2 separate regions of the Homo sapiens genome follow, and region 1 is linked to region 2. The links are contacts of gene promoters, found by promoter capture Hi-C in human tissues and cell types (Jung and others, 2019). All regions are on one chromosome and are shown on one strand. The core of a region is centred on a gene start or on the middle of the fragment in contact, and the rest is flanking DNA. Distances in the headings are between cores, read along the strand shown.

Evidence for each region. The method cuts DNA at HindIII sites, captures the fragments that hold promoters and counts their contacts. A contact is called where the count stands out against the background at its distance.
Region 1: a contact is called between a fragment that was not itself captured here and the fragment with the promoter of FBXL14 in region 2, in 1 of the 25 tissues and cell types used here (H1 embryonic stem cells).

Annotation. Positions count from the first base shown.
Region 1 is chr12:1,388,715-1,395,630 of GRCh38, forward strand. All of the region lies in intron 16 of ERC1 (ELKS/RAB6-interacting/CAST family member 1), which reads left to right. Among named protein-coding and RNA genes, the nearest start is that of LINC00942, 110 kb to the right of the region's middle. The HindIII fragment of the contact is 7,264 bases long and covers 1-5,500 here.
Region 2 is chr12:1,591,637-1,598,826 of GRCh38, forward strand. FBXL14 (F-box and leucine rich repeat protein 14) reads right to left here and starts at 2,945. Exons shown (of 2, transcript NM_152441.3): 1 at 1,237-2,945. The coding sequence starts at 2,430. RefSeq lists enhancers at 899-1,502, 2,020-2,209, 3,580-3,649 and silencers at 1,420-1,469, 2,450-3,319. The HindIII fragment of the contact is 15,118 bases long and covers 1-7,190 here.

The DNA of each region.
Region 1 (6,916 bases), core at 619-3,118, 200 kb before region 2:
GATGGTAAGATTAAAAACAGGGAGACTGTTTAAGAATCTATTCCAGTTGCCCAAATATGAAATGATGAGGACAAGAATATAGGGTAGTTGAGATGGAGTAATGTATTCACTAGGCCATTCTGTGTATCAAACACCACCTAATCTTAGTGCCTTAACACAGTAAACGCTTATTTCTTGGTTACACAAAGTCCACCGCAGATCTTGCCGGCTCTATGAGGAAGCTGCCCTCCATGCAGCAATTCAGTAATCCAATTCTACTAAAAATTTCCTCCTTTAGCTCTTTCAGTATGAGGCCTTCTTGGTCACTGTGGCAAAGGAACAAGTAATTGGTGGTTCCCGTGCTGTTTCTTCTATGCTTGGGTCCCACGGTCACTACCCACAGACCACTGGCCAGTCAGATGTCTGGTCTGGCCAAGTAAGTGGAAGTGGTCTCCCTAATTAAAATGAGTAATCAAGAAGAAAGGCCATATATGGAAGAGAATATAACATGCTTATTTTTAGTAGAGTTGAATTCGAGGTTATTTATACCCAAATAGATACATCAAGAAAGCCGTTGGCTGGAGATGCTCCAGGTAAAGATGAGAGCTAGAAATGATAATTTTGGAGTCATCAGAACAGAAATACTACTTAAACCCATGAAAATGGAATAGCTTGCTTAAGAGAGAATATAGGCAAGTTATACTTACTTTTTACTGTTTTCTGACACATACTAAAATATTAACACAGGCCATTCTTTTCATCCTTACAGATTATAGTTCAATGAGCATATGCCCTCTGTAAGCCTGTTGGTAATGGATTTCAGAATTGGCTCTACTGGATATGCATTGCTAGGAGTTTTTATGCAGTTCTAGGGTTTTTAAGACCTTTTTTTCATGTCTTACATGTGTTGAAAATGCTTTAAGCATTTATGGCACAATATATCACAGGTGATTGTGATCTTATATACCCCATAGCCATTTTGCTGATTTGATATATAAATTAATAAAGCTCTGTTCCTGGAAATGAGGATAATGCTACATGAATACTCCAAAGAGTTAACATAAATGTAGTCTTGAAAAGCACTCCCTCAAGAAAAGAATTCTGTCCAAATCCTATTAATTCCCGGGTATTTTGCCTATTTTCCTTAAAAGCACCTTACATTAAAAAATCTGTTTTGCATTCAGTCTCTAAGCAAAAATATGTAGTGCCTTTAAAGAAACAACAACAAAAAAACCCTTGAGTAGGTTAATCTCTCCATTTTAAGTTACACACTTATTTCATGAACTAATCAAACTTGTCGTTAAGGCTTCATTAATTTCCTCTCCACTCATGGGGTGGGATGGTTGAATCATAGCGGGGCTGTGTGTGTCTGGAAGTGACCTTTGTATATTTGGGTGGTAAATTATACTTCAAAATACCAGTAGACATTTTATTAAAATTTTTATTTTCTTTGGTAGATTATTTCCTTCTAATTATAGTAGTAAACACTGGTATGTTATGATTAGTGATTAGCTTATAACAAACATCTAAACAGGGATAAGTCAGCCTGTTTAGCGATAAACCTGTCTCTTGATATATTTAGAACTGATCACTAGCCAGTATGGCTCCATATATTTCTAGGACAGTGTAACCCACAGTGACATAAATTAAAATTTTAAAAAAATCAAGGATACAGTAAATACCAACTGTCTATTAATATTGATTAATAAATCAATACATTTAAAAAATAATAAAGTTTAATTTTTCAAATTGATAAAAGTAAAAATTACTAAATTGATACATTACTGAGTTAATAAAATTAACATTTACTACTATTAATCTAAATGGGAAGGTGAAACATGGGACAAAGAATGAATTTTTCTGAACCTAAAAACTGGAAGGAAAGTCAAAAGTACTTACCAGAGCATGCTTAGGATGCCCAAAGGTACTGTCAGTTCATCTCCCGGAGGTGGGGTTAGTTTAGTCACCACCAAAATAAAACTGTGGTCAAACCATGAATTTTGGAGTATTAAATGAACCCAGTTGTGGATTCACTATGGTCAAATTACTACAAGAACTGGGACTGGAATAGGTTGCCCTGCCCTAGAAGTTTCCTAGTTGATTGAGTTGAGGTCTGATTAAGTTGAGGTCACTTCCAGACACACACAGTCGCACTCTGATTCAACCATCCCACTCCAGGAATGGAGAGGAAATTAATGAAGCCTTACTGACAAGTTTGATGAGGGAGGGAGCAGCTATGTTGGCATGTCTTCTAAGAGCTGTTTCTGACTTCTGGTGCCCAGCAGTAGTCCAGCTATGGTAGCTGATCAGTTGCTGCCTAATTACCTAATCCTATTGGCAAGATGAATGTTTCAGTTCGCTGCTGTGCCTTTAATCATAATTGTCTTTTATTCATTCAGTTTGAGGTCTTCCTGGTTCTTGGGATGTTGAGTGATTCTCAGTTGAAACCTGGACATGTTGGATGTTATGCGATATGACTCTGGGTCTTACTTAGACTTCTGTTTTAGCTGGTTTTCTTTGACACCACTCCAGCAGGGGAAGAATGGGGTGCTGCCTCAGTATTGCCCAGTGGAGGTAGAAGTCCAGTTTCTCCCACTTGGACCCTGCTGACACTCAAGGGGTGGAGGCTTCTTGTTACTCCTAGGTGGAGATGGGTATTCATGTCCCCACTAGGCTTCACTGGTGTATCCCTGCCTGGTTAGGGTAGGAAGGCCTCCACTAACACAGTGGGGGTGAAGGAAGGGGGGCCTGGTTACTGCTGTGCGGTAGTGAAGGTCCGACTCCACCAGGAGACACGGCTGTTACTGCTCCATGGAGGTGGAATTCTAGAATCCTCACCTAGTCTCTAGTGACACTGTGGAGGGGAGACTTCATTGCTGATGGTTGGAGATTATAGCCCTGCCTCCCTCGGCTTTCCCTGACACCTTCCAGTGGAGCAAGGAGAGGCTGAAGCACCTCCTCACAACCTGGTGAGCATGGGGCCCGCCGCTTGGTCTTTACTGACATGAGTGACAGTGGGACCACATGGTCTTTGGAATAGAGTGATTGTTGTCCCACAGGTTTCTATGTTGCTAGGCTGTCCCTTTCCTTTGGAGGCTTCTTTGGCTAGAGAGAGTGGGCTCCTGTTGAAGCTTTTTTGGTCTGTGCCTGTTGGCATTTCCTGGTTGTTGGCTTCTTCAGCTCTACCTCTGGATATATAAGGCAGAAAGATCCAGGGAGCTGCAGGTCACAGCACTCCTGACTGGTCTGCCTTCTCTCTGCCTTTTTAGTGTTTGTCTGTGTGTATAGTTCTTGTTGTACTTTTATACTTAGTGTGCTGGAGAAAAAAAAATATTCCTGATACTTCTTAAAGACAGTAAGGCAGACTATTCAGGGGACCACTGAGATGAGGATTTGTGTTAGAGGGCAGAGATTGGGCTCAACTCAGAATACACAAGGACCAATGGAGATGTGTAGCGAAGGAGCAGGGTGGGGGTCAGTGATGGAAAATTACTAAGAAGAAACGTCATGGCTGGGGGATTCTTGCCAGACCTACTCAACAGGAGTTGCTGAAGACAAGCCAGAGAGATGACATATTGATAGTGGGAGATGAGGAATTTGATCAGATCTCATGAGTGATCAGGCCTCAAGGGTGGGGATTTATTTTTGAAGGAAGACTTAAGCAAACTACCTTTTCTCTTTAGGAAAATAAAATGTATGTTCTGGGCTTAGATATCTAAGTAATCAGTAGGTTGAATTTTAATGCTTACATGCAGATAACCGATTTTTTTAAGTTATAATTTTCATTACTACCTCATCCCTTAGCCCAAGTCACATATTTACCTGTTTTGGAAAACCATACCTCTGGCAGCAGTTGAGCTTTGATGTCTAGTATCATTACTTTATTCAGCTTCCAATTCATTTTAAGTGGTCCTTAATGGGTATTCATTTCTTATCAGAATCAATCTATACCTGATACTTGTATATTTCTGGAAATCAAAGTTTTTCAAATATTTGGATTTATAAAATTATAAGTGGAAATATTTCAACAACTATGAAGAGATAGATAATTTAAGATACTTTTCTATAATTAACAACTTTTTTTAGAAAAGCCTGATTTTAATAAATGGTGGTTTTCTGTTTTTTTCTTCTACAGAAAAGACTGAAAGCCATTTAGCTCAGTTGTACAAAAAAGAAACTTTAGAGAATAGAGAAAATCAAGAGTGCAATAGTAGCTGTGGGAAAATTTTAACAATGTAACCACGTATGTTTGTACAGATACATATATACAGAGAAATCCTTTTATAATGAATAGTCAGAGTATAGGAGAAAAAAATGGTATTGGAGAGTTTGGCCTTATATCATTTGCTTTCAATCTGAATGGTTCAGTAAGAATCTAAAAATGCCTTTATATCCTCTGGGTTTATTTAAAGATACTTCACTGTATGTACACACAGGTGTATAGTTGGTTTATGTTTTGACTCAGTTATATTCTTTTCTTACCATGTATGGACCATGATTTTGTAAAAAGAAAAGATAAAATTCCCTCAGAACATCTAGCTTTAAGAACTTTGGCTGGGTGTGGTGGCTTACGCCTGTAATCCCAACACTTTGGGAAACTGAAAGGCAAGAGGATCACTTGAGCCCAGGAGTTAGTGACGAGCCTGAGCAACGTGGGGAAACCTCATCTCTACACAACAAAAATTTTAAAAATTAGCTGGGCGTGGTGGTGCACATCTGTAGTCCCAGGCCTTAGGAAGCTGAGATGGGAAGATCGCTTGAGCCCAGGTGGTCAAGGCTGCAGTGAGCTATGATTGTGCTACTGCACTCCAGCCTGGGCGACAGAGGAGACCCTGTCTCAATTTAAATATCAAAAAGAACTTTTATTCTTGTGATCTAAAGTTCTTTTTTTTTTTTCCTTTAGAGAGAACACACGTGTGTGTGTGTGTGTGTGTGTGTGTGTGTGTGTGTGTGTGTAAAGTGCTTGGATTCTTGAAGATCACTTTCTCTGCTTGCTTAGCTGTTCTTCAAGCAGGAGAAAATATGCTGTATTTATGTGATTATAAAAAGCATTGCCAGGCATGGTGGCTCATGCCTGTAATCCCAGCACTTTGGGAGGCCGGGGCGGGCAGATCACGAGGTCAGGAGATTGAGACCACGGTGAAACCCCGTCTCTACTAAAACGACAAAAAAATTAGCCAAGTGTGGTGGCGGGCGCCTGTAGTCCCAGCTACTCCGGAGGCTGAGGCAGGAGAATGGCGTGAACCCGGGAGGCGGAGGTTGCAGTGAGCTGAGATTTCGCCACTGCACTCCAGCCTGGGTGACAGAGTGAGACTCCGTCTCAAAAAAAAAAAAAAAAAACAAAAAAAAAACCACAAAGCATTAAGCAATTTAATTTCTGTATATTTAGTAAGGAAGTGATCATACTTTAAAAAAAAACTTTTTAGGCCGGGCACAGTGGCTCACACCTGTAATCCCAGCACTTTGGGAGGCCAAGGCGGGCAGATCACGAGGTCAGGAGATCGAGACCATCCTGGCTAACACGGTGAAACCCCATCTCTACTAAAAATACAAAAAATTAGCCAGGCGTGGTGGCGGGCTCCTGTAGTCCCAGCTACTGGGGAGGCTGAGGCAGGAGAATGGTGTGAACCTGGGAGGCGGAGCTTGCAGTGAGCCGAGATTGCGCCACTGCACTCTAGCCTGGGTGACAGAGCAAGACTCCTCTAAAAACAAAAAAAGAAAAAAGAAATTTAGTATTACTTCTTGTTTTCGTGGCCTCTGTATCTGTAAAATACAACTGTACACTCAGTGATATGGTTTGGCTTTGTGTCCCCAACCAAATCTCATGTTGATTGTTATTCACAGTGTTGAAGAAGGGGCCTGATGAGAGGTGATTGGATGGGGGCAGCATTCCTCCCTGTTGTTCTCATGATAGTGAGTGAGTTCTCTTGAGATCTGATGGTTTAAAAGTGTGCGATACTTCCCCCCTCACCTGTGCTCTCACTCTCTCCTGCCACCATGTAGAAAAGGTGCTTGCTTCCCTTTCACCTTCCGCCATGATTGTAAGTTTCCTGAGGCCTTCCAGTCATGTTTCCTGTGAAGCCTGAGGGACTGAGTCAATTGAACCAATTTTCTTCATAAATTTACCCAGTCTCGGGTAGTTCTTTACAGCAGTGTGAGAGCAGACTAATACACTCAGCCACTCAGATAACCTAAATTACAGACAAACTGTGGTAAATGTTCTTGGATCCTGGCCATTGTTCACTGATTTTTAGAATAACAGAATGCACTTGCCTGCATTTTCTTCTTTTCTTTAGATATGGTGTTGAGTCTCACTGAATCCAGCTAATAATTCCCTTTAAACATTCTGTTCTTTGAGAACAGATACAGCTGGGAGAAATGATCCTATGACATTAAAACTAGAATTGGATTGCATTAGGTTTATTGCAAGGATGTGAGATCTGTACTCCAAAGTGGGGCAGTGACCAGGAGCAAAGGCTCAACCACTCTTTGTTTTTGAACAGTTTCATTTTAGGTACTGCACTGGGCCATTATAGGCAAATTGGCCCAAAAGGTATTTCACTCCTGGAACTTAAGTTCATGACCAACTTTTAGGAATGGCTTTTTAGATCTGACTGTTACTTTTTCACCAGAATGTACCATAATTATATACCATGGCCTTGCCAGAAAACAGGAAATCTTTCAAAAATTAGGAGTGGAATAGAAATTTTGTAGTTTTTTTTTTTTTTTCAGTTTTAAAATGTTGAATGTGTTTTTATCCTTGTGTTAATATATGTTTGAAGAGAGAAAATATAGGCTGCTCTTCTCCAGAGTTCGAAGTTAAAGTCTGCACAGCATATGGGAAAGTGCTAAATATACATGGTAATTGGAATTAACCATTAAGATGAACATACTCATTCTGGCAGCTAAGAAGGGATATCTTCAGCTCAGGGAAAAC
Region 2 (7,190 bases), core at 1,695-4,194:
AAGAAAGAAAGTCATCTATTCCTCCATTTAGAAACGGAATTTTTTAAAACCCACAAACTCCCATTTTGTTAATAGAACAGAGATAAGATATGAGCTTCATCACAGCCCCAGGGGCTCTGCAGGCCAGCTCTGCTCCTGTTTCCCACAGGAAGCCGCACTGTGTGACCTTTTTGGGGGGAAACTTGGAAGAGGGTGAGGGTAGGGCAGAATTTGCATATATAATCATCATTTTCAAGACACAATCTGCATCTCCAACAAAAACAACGGTTCAACTCTCATTGCTCCCACATATTTGTGCTATAAATTAAGATTTAGAAATAGGTCCTCAAATCCCAATGAACAAGGAGAAAAAGGAAATTATAGCCAGAATGTGGAAGTGGGGCACACTGGACGGATGGAGGCTGGGAAGAAGCCAACACAAAAAGACGGACAAACCCAAGGGCATCTTTCCAGTCTAGGCACAAACATGTTTCAGTCTCAAAATATCTCTCTTGTAGAATTCCAGGGCTTCAGAAAAAAAGTAAACTAAAACGAGGTAGCCAGACATATATATGTATATATATATATATATAATTTATATATATATAATATATAGAATATATTCAGCAGAAAAAAGGACCATGATTTCAAATTTTTTCCAAAAAAAAATTTTTAAACAGGAAAGAAGATTAAGAACATGAAATGAGCATGAATAGCAGAGTACTGTAAGAGGAGGAGTGATGAGAAGAGACTGGGATTAGTTACAAAGTGGAAGGGTGAAAAGGCCTTTGTAGCTGGGTTTGCTTTTTATACATTTCAAAATAAAAACCAGATCACAGTATTCAAATGAAAGCTGAAGTGAAAGCAGACATTTTCCTCAACTCCCCAGGGTTGAAAAGACCAGTCACTCCCCACCCCCATTTCCAGTCACAGCAGTGGGGATACAGTAGCTGAATCAGTCCTCCACCCCCTGCAGGGGAGTGGGTGGGTAAGCAGCAGAGTCCATCTCTCCATCCGCGGGGAAAAGGAGCTGGGAGTAGGGTAGGGTAGGAACCCCAGCTGCAAAGAGAATGGGCTGGAAGCCGGGAGGGGGCTGGAGGAGGGAGGAGGAAACGAGCCTGAGGCTTCTGTCATAGCCCCATCTCATCCGCTGCAATGATCTGTGCGTAAGTGTGCGTGTGAGTGTGTGGGGGCGGTGGTAATGGGAGGATGAACAGGGCGGGACAAGGGGAGCTGGTGCTGCCGCCCTCACCTGACCTTCTCACTGTCCGTCATCTGCCAGAGTCCCAGGTTGAGTACCTTGAGGCACGGCAGCTGCGTGATGCGCTCCAGGCCGCGCTTGGTGATTCGGGTGCAGCCGTACAGGTCTATGCCGGTGAGTTGGCTCAGGTGCTCAGCGATCAGCTCCAGGCCCTTGTCCGTGATGCGCACACACTGTCCAATGTTGAGCGTGCGCAGCCCGTGCATCTGCCGCACCATGCGGTTGATGCCATCATCACTGATGTGGCAGGAGCAGAGGGAGAGAGACTTGAGGCCATCCAGCCCCTGGGCTATGTAAGCCAGACTCTGGTCTCCCACCTTGTCACAGAACGAAACATCCAGCCCCGAGAGGCGCAGGCTGCCCATGGCCAGATGCATGATGCCCGTGTCACTGATGTTGTCACAGGAGCGCAGGTTGAGGCTGCGCAGGCTGCCCATGTGCGACAGGTGCAGGAGGCCAGCGTCCGAGATTCCCCCACAGAAGCTGAGGTTGAGGAGCCTCAGGCCCGTCAGCCCTCGGGAGATGTGCTTTAGAGAAAGATCTGTGAGCTTCTGGCAGTCCTGTAGCGTGAGCTGCTCCAGGCCCAGGCAGCCCTCCGCCGCGCTGCGCGTCATGCCGGCCAGGTGCCCGATGCCCACATCCGAAAGGTGGCGGCAGCTGCGGAGGTTAAGGCTCTTGAGGCGCTGCAGACCCCAGGCGATGAGCAGAAGGCCAGTGTTGGTGATGTTGCTGCAACCTCCCAGCTCCAGCACCTCCAGGCCCTTGAGGTACTGGGCTATGCGGCCCAGGCTGCTGTCAGTGATCTGCTTGCAGAGGCTCAGGTTGAGAGCGCGCAGGGAGCCGATCTCCTGCACAAACGCGTGGCCCAGCCCGTTGTCGGTGAGGTTGTAGCAGCCGCTGAGGTTGAGGCTCTCGATGTTGGCCATGCCCTGGATCACGTAGCTGAGGCTGCGGCGGAGGCTCAGGATCTGCACCCGGCGGATGCCCCGGGCCTGCAGGCTGGGGAACAGCGACGGGTTGGCCCGGCGCAGGTGCAGCTTGGCCTCCACCCCCCGCCACACCGACTTGTGGTAGGCGGCGTCCCGCCAGGCGGTGCACACCTGCGCCGCGCGCCCCTTGTCCCGGACGTCCAGGTAGCCGAAGATCATGGCCAGCAGCTCCGGGAACAGGCATGAGATGTGGGTCTCCATCTTCCTCCTCCCCCCTCCGCGGCGCTGGGGGGAGGAGGCGCGGGCCCCGCCGCTCCGGCCTCGGGCAGGCGACGAGAGCGCTTCTCCCCAGCCGCCGCCGCCGCCGCCGCCGCCGCCTCGGGCCCAACGGCCGGCCCCTCCCCGCCTTCCGGCTCCGGCCGCCGCCGCCGCTCCTCCTCCTGGTCCGTCCGTCCTTCCTTCCTGCCGGCTGCGCCTCCGGCCCGGCCCTCCCCCGCCCCGGGCTCCGCACGGCGCTCACATCCCGGGCGGGGAAGGCGCCTCGCTCTCGCTCCCGGAGGCCGGCCGCCGCCGCCGCCTCGGCTCTACCCACGCCGCGCCCGGGCCGCGCCGCTCCGCCCGCGCCGCCGCGCCCACGCCCCCTGCCGCATCCTCCGCCTCCTGCCGCCGCCGCTGCTCCGCGGGCCGGCGGGCGGCGAGGGGGCCCCGGGGGCCGGGCGCACGGGCTCCGGGCGCGGAGGAGGCTTCCTGCTGCCTTTGTCTCTCGCCCGCTTTTCAAACCTCCCAGCCCCGGGCCGCCCGCACTCCGCCGCCCAGGCGGGGGGACCAGGAGGCCAATCCCGGCCGGCGGCGTGCGTTCCTTCTCCCCCGCCGTCCGCGGCCACTTGGGAGCTGCCGGCCCCCGCACCAAGGACGCCGCGGCCGTCCGGCCGGAGCGCGGCTCGGCGCAGACCCCGGGCGAGCAGGCGGGCCGTGCGTTTGGTAGCGCCCGGGCCGGCCCCGGCTCCGCCGCCCTGCAGCGCGTCCCCTCCGCCGCTCCCGCTCCCCCGCGCCCGCGCAATGGTACGGGCCTGCGCTGCCGGAACTGTGGAGCCGTTGCCCTGGAAACCGAGTTCGGCCTGGTCCCGTGGCCCCTGATTTTTAACCCTGTGGGCGCCACGGGGGAGCGGCAGCTGTCAGCAGAGCGCCTCCCCACCCGGCTTCTTTTCACCCGGTAGCCCGTTATTGAGCCGTTCCCTCTCTGGGCCACGCCCCAGCCCCGTTCCTTCTTTTTCTTTGCTGTTGAAGTCTGCGCAGCCCCTTCCCACAGTTTACCCCTGCAATTCGTTACCCTTATTTCACACCCCTCTCCCTTGATTATCCCTGCGAGAGCCGCCTCCTATAGCAGTGCTCAATAATCGTCACCCCAACTCTCCTTTTCTTACTGTCCCTAATGCCCCTTAACGCCTCATTATCACACCCCCTGCTCCCCCGGTTGGGGCTGTTTACTACGACGCCTTTCTCTCCAGTCTTGTGTCTTAAATTGGAGAGAAACTCGGCTGTACTCATCTTAAACAATGACCCCCTCCAGTCGGTGTTCTAGAAATTTCTAGAATTATCCATGACTACTTCCTTCTAGCATCTTCTGATGGTTTCCAGACACGCTGTGTGTGTTTCCCTCGGTACTTGATACATCAAAACTTCCCTCTACTTCTGAACGCTGCTGCGCCACCAATGCCCTCAGTCCGCTTTGCTTACAGGGGAACAGCCTTCCCCTAAGCCTTGTTTTAGGAGCTTTCTCCTTGTCATCAGCCTTAGACTATCAGTTGTATGGCTCAGTTGTACTGATAGTCAATATATTCGTATATGCTGAATCCAATTTACTTTTTGATTAAAATGGAATGACAGTTGAACTTGGTTTAAGACAATCCAGTCGTGTCTGTTGGTTTATCAACCGTTTTATGGAAGCAGGGCACAATTCCATTCTAGGATGTAGCCCCTGGGTCCTAAATGTCCGTACTAAGGATAGAATTTCAGAAGTTTCATTTTAACTACCCCCAAACCAAGAATTTTTGGATCAGAGAAAATGATCCTCTGTATTTTAATTTATGGATCCACACAACTAGATACAAGACCAGCGGATTTATCAGAAAGGGAAAATGGTTTCATTGATTCTTTGAGGACCTGAACAAGATTTGGAAGGGGTTCCATATTCAGTGTAGGAGAGTAACTTTTGCCCAAGCAACCACTATTAGACCAAATACATACAGATTCAGTAATAGGCATAATACACCTTTTACACCCCTACCACTCCTCTTTCCTAAATCAGGAAATGCAGAAGCAAAAATTCTCGCCAGCTTGTTACCTCACCCACATTACACGCAGTGTGGAGCCCATAGATTTTTATAACCTTCTTGAAAAAATAGACTGTACTGTTAGTCATCCAGTACATCCAGATGTACGGTGGCAGTAAGTGTCACGATTCTGGGGTATGCCTGGGCTTCACTCTTCTCCTGGAGGTTATCTAGGCTTTTATTCTTCTCAGTCACTTCTGCCTAAACGTTTACCTTAAATTCTGCGCAAAAGTCACTTTTTGATTGTTCTGTGCACCTAGATGTGTTTGGGTTGATGTCAAGGCCTTAATCCAAAGCACCTTAGTGTAACTTAATCCTGCTTAATAAAAAACAAAGTACCCCACACATTTGGGGGGAATTTTAGACAAGGGGCCTGACCAGCCTCGGACTAAGAAGGAGCCTAATGGTTTTCCTTCTCTAGAAAGGCCCTTGTTCTCAAATCTGAAGAGTCATTCAGAGGTATCTGGAAGCACTTTCTCTAGAAGTTGGCCATCTGGTCCTCGTTCTAACAACAGTTTTTCTTGAATTCTAGAATCTTATTAACACAAAGCCTTTTATTTAAGGCACTCAAGTATATATTATAAGGATTTTCAGCAATATGACTATTTTCACCTTCAATAAATAGGAAAATATAGCATCAAGAAGCATCACAGAAAAAGCATTCCCGGGGAAAAGGAACTAGGGCGTAGAATGAGCCCTATGCCGAATCTGAACACCTGGTGACTTTATGCTACTGAGGAAACGACTCTCCTTTCTGGGTCTCGGTTTCCTTGTGTAACACCAGGATGATTTGACTAGGTAATCTTCAGGGACCTTTCCAGTAGGAACACTCTGAGGCCAAGAGCCTAGCATACTGTCTCCTTAACCCATGGAACAATTACACATTGTTCCTAATGCAGGCTCCAGATATTAAGAATAACTTCGAATACAATAACTTCCTGGGAGCTTTGGTTTATGCTCAGACTTAGGACACAAAAATATATGAAGAATATGTATAGACAGGAGACTCTGATTGTCTGGCAAAGATGTATACCAATGTAGAAAATCCTGTGGCTTGCTCTTCATATTTTTAAAACTGGTTGAGATTTTTGTATATGATTTAACAAGTTGCAACCATAAGTTTTTTAACTAGCCTATTTAAAAGCAGAAATGATAGCCTTGTGTAGGGAGTCTCTCCAAAGCCTTACAAAGAATTTTTTTTTTAATTCTAGATTTTTCAGATGGAATGTGCTTTTCACCTGGGTAGGGTGGGAAAATTGAGAGGCCCAACCCAAAGATCAGGCTTACCTAAGGATTCATACTTTCTCCTTCAGAAGGGGAAGACCTGGCAGGAAAGATCAGAAGAGCTCTGTAGCTTTTAACTCCTCATTCAAGTATATATATATATATATATATATATATATATATATATATATATATATATATCTCCAAAAATAGTGGCCCAGAGTCTAGTTTATGGGTTGGGTCAGAGGAGTTAACATAGGCCGGGCAAAGTGGCTCATGCCTCTAATCCCAGCATTTTGGGAGGCCGAGGCGGGATGATCACTTGAGGCCAGGAGTTCGAGACCAGCCTGGCCAACATGGTGAAACCCCGTCTCTACTAAAAAAAATACGAAAATATTAGCCGGGCATGGCAGCACATGCCTGTAATCCCAGCTACTCGGGAGGCTGAGGCATGAGAATCGCATGAACCCAGGAGACAGAGGTTGCAGTGAGCTGGTACTGTGCCACTACACTCCAGCCTGGGCGACAGAGCAAGAGACCTTGTCAAAAAAAAAAAAAAGTTAAAATATTTTGTGTCTATTTTCCTTGAACTCTAGTGTATCTATGGCACAATGCCTGCTATGTAGTAGACATTTTGTCAGTGTTGTTGAACTGAAGTGAATGAGATGGATAATATAAATAATAATCTCTTTATGAAAGACTTCATACATATCGAAACTTCTTCGAGAGTTCTGGGCAGCCATTAGTAATCTGAGGTTTATAATAAAATGCTGCCTTTCCAACTTCAAGGTTTCTTGAGAGTAACATTCATTCTGTTGCTCAGTATTTCTAAGTAGGAGAGCATCTCTCTCGACACTTCTTCGTGACAGAATATTAAAGATAAGAGAGGGTGAGGATTTGATTCACTGATTGCAAATAAAAGATTTAAGCAGAAACAACAACCAAAAAAAGCCCAATTTAAAAATGGGCAAAGGGTTTAAATAGACATTTCTCCAAAGAAGATACACAGGTGATCCACAGCACATGAAGAGAGGCTCAACATCATTAGTCATTAGGGAAATGCAAATGGAAGCCACAGTAAGATACCACCTCATATCCATAAGGATAGCTACTATTAATAAAACAGAAAATAACAAGTATAGGTGAGGATCTGGAGAAAGTAGAATCCTGGTGCACTGTGGGTGAGAATGTAAAGTTGTGGGCCAGGCACAGTGGCTCACACCTGTAATTCCAGTGCTTTGGGAGACTGAAGCGGGAGGATTGCTTGAGCCCAGGAGTTCAAGATCAGCCTGGGCAACATGGCAAGACCCCATCTCTCTTATAAAAAATTGTGCAGCTGCTATGGAAAACGGTATGGCCATTTCTCAAAAAATTAAAAATAGAGCTACCGTATGATTCAGCAATTCTGTTTCTAGGTATGTACCTAAAAGAATTGAAAGCAGGGGTTCGAAGAGCTATTTGTAC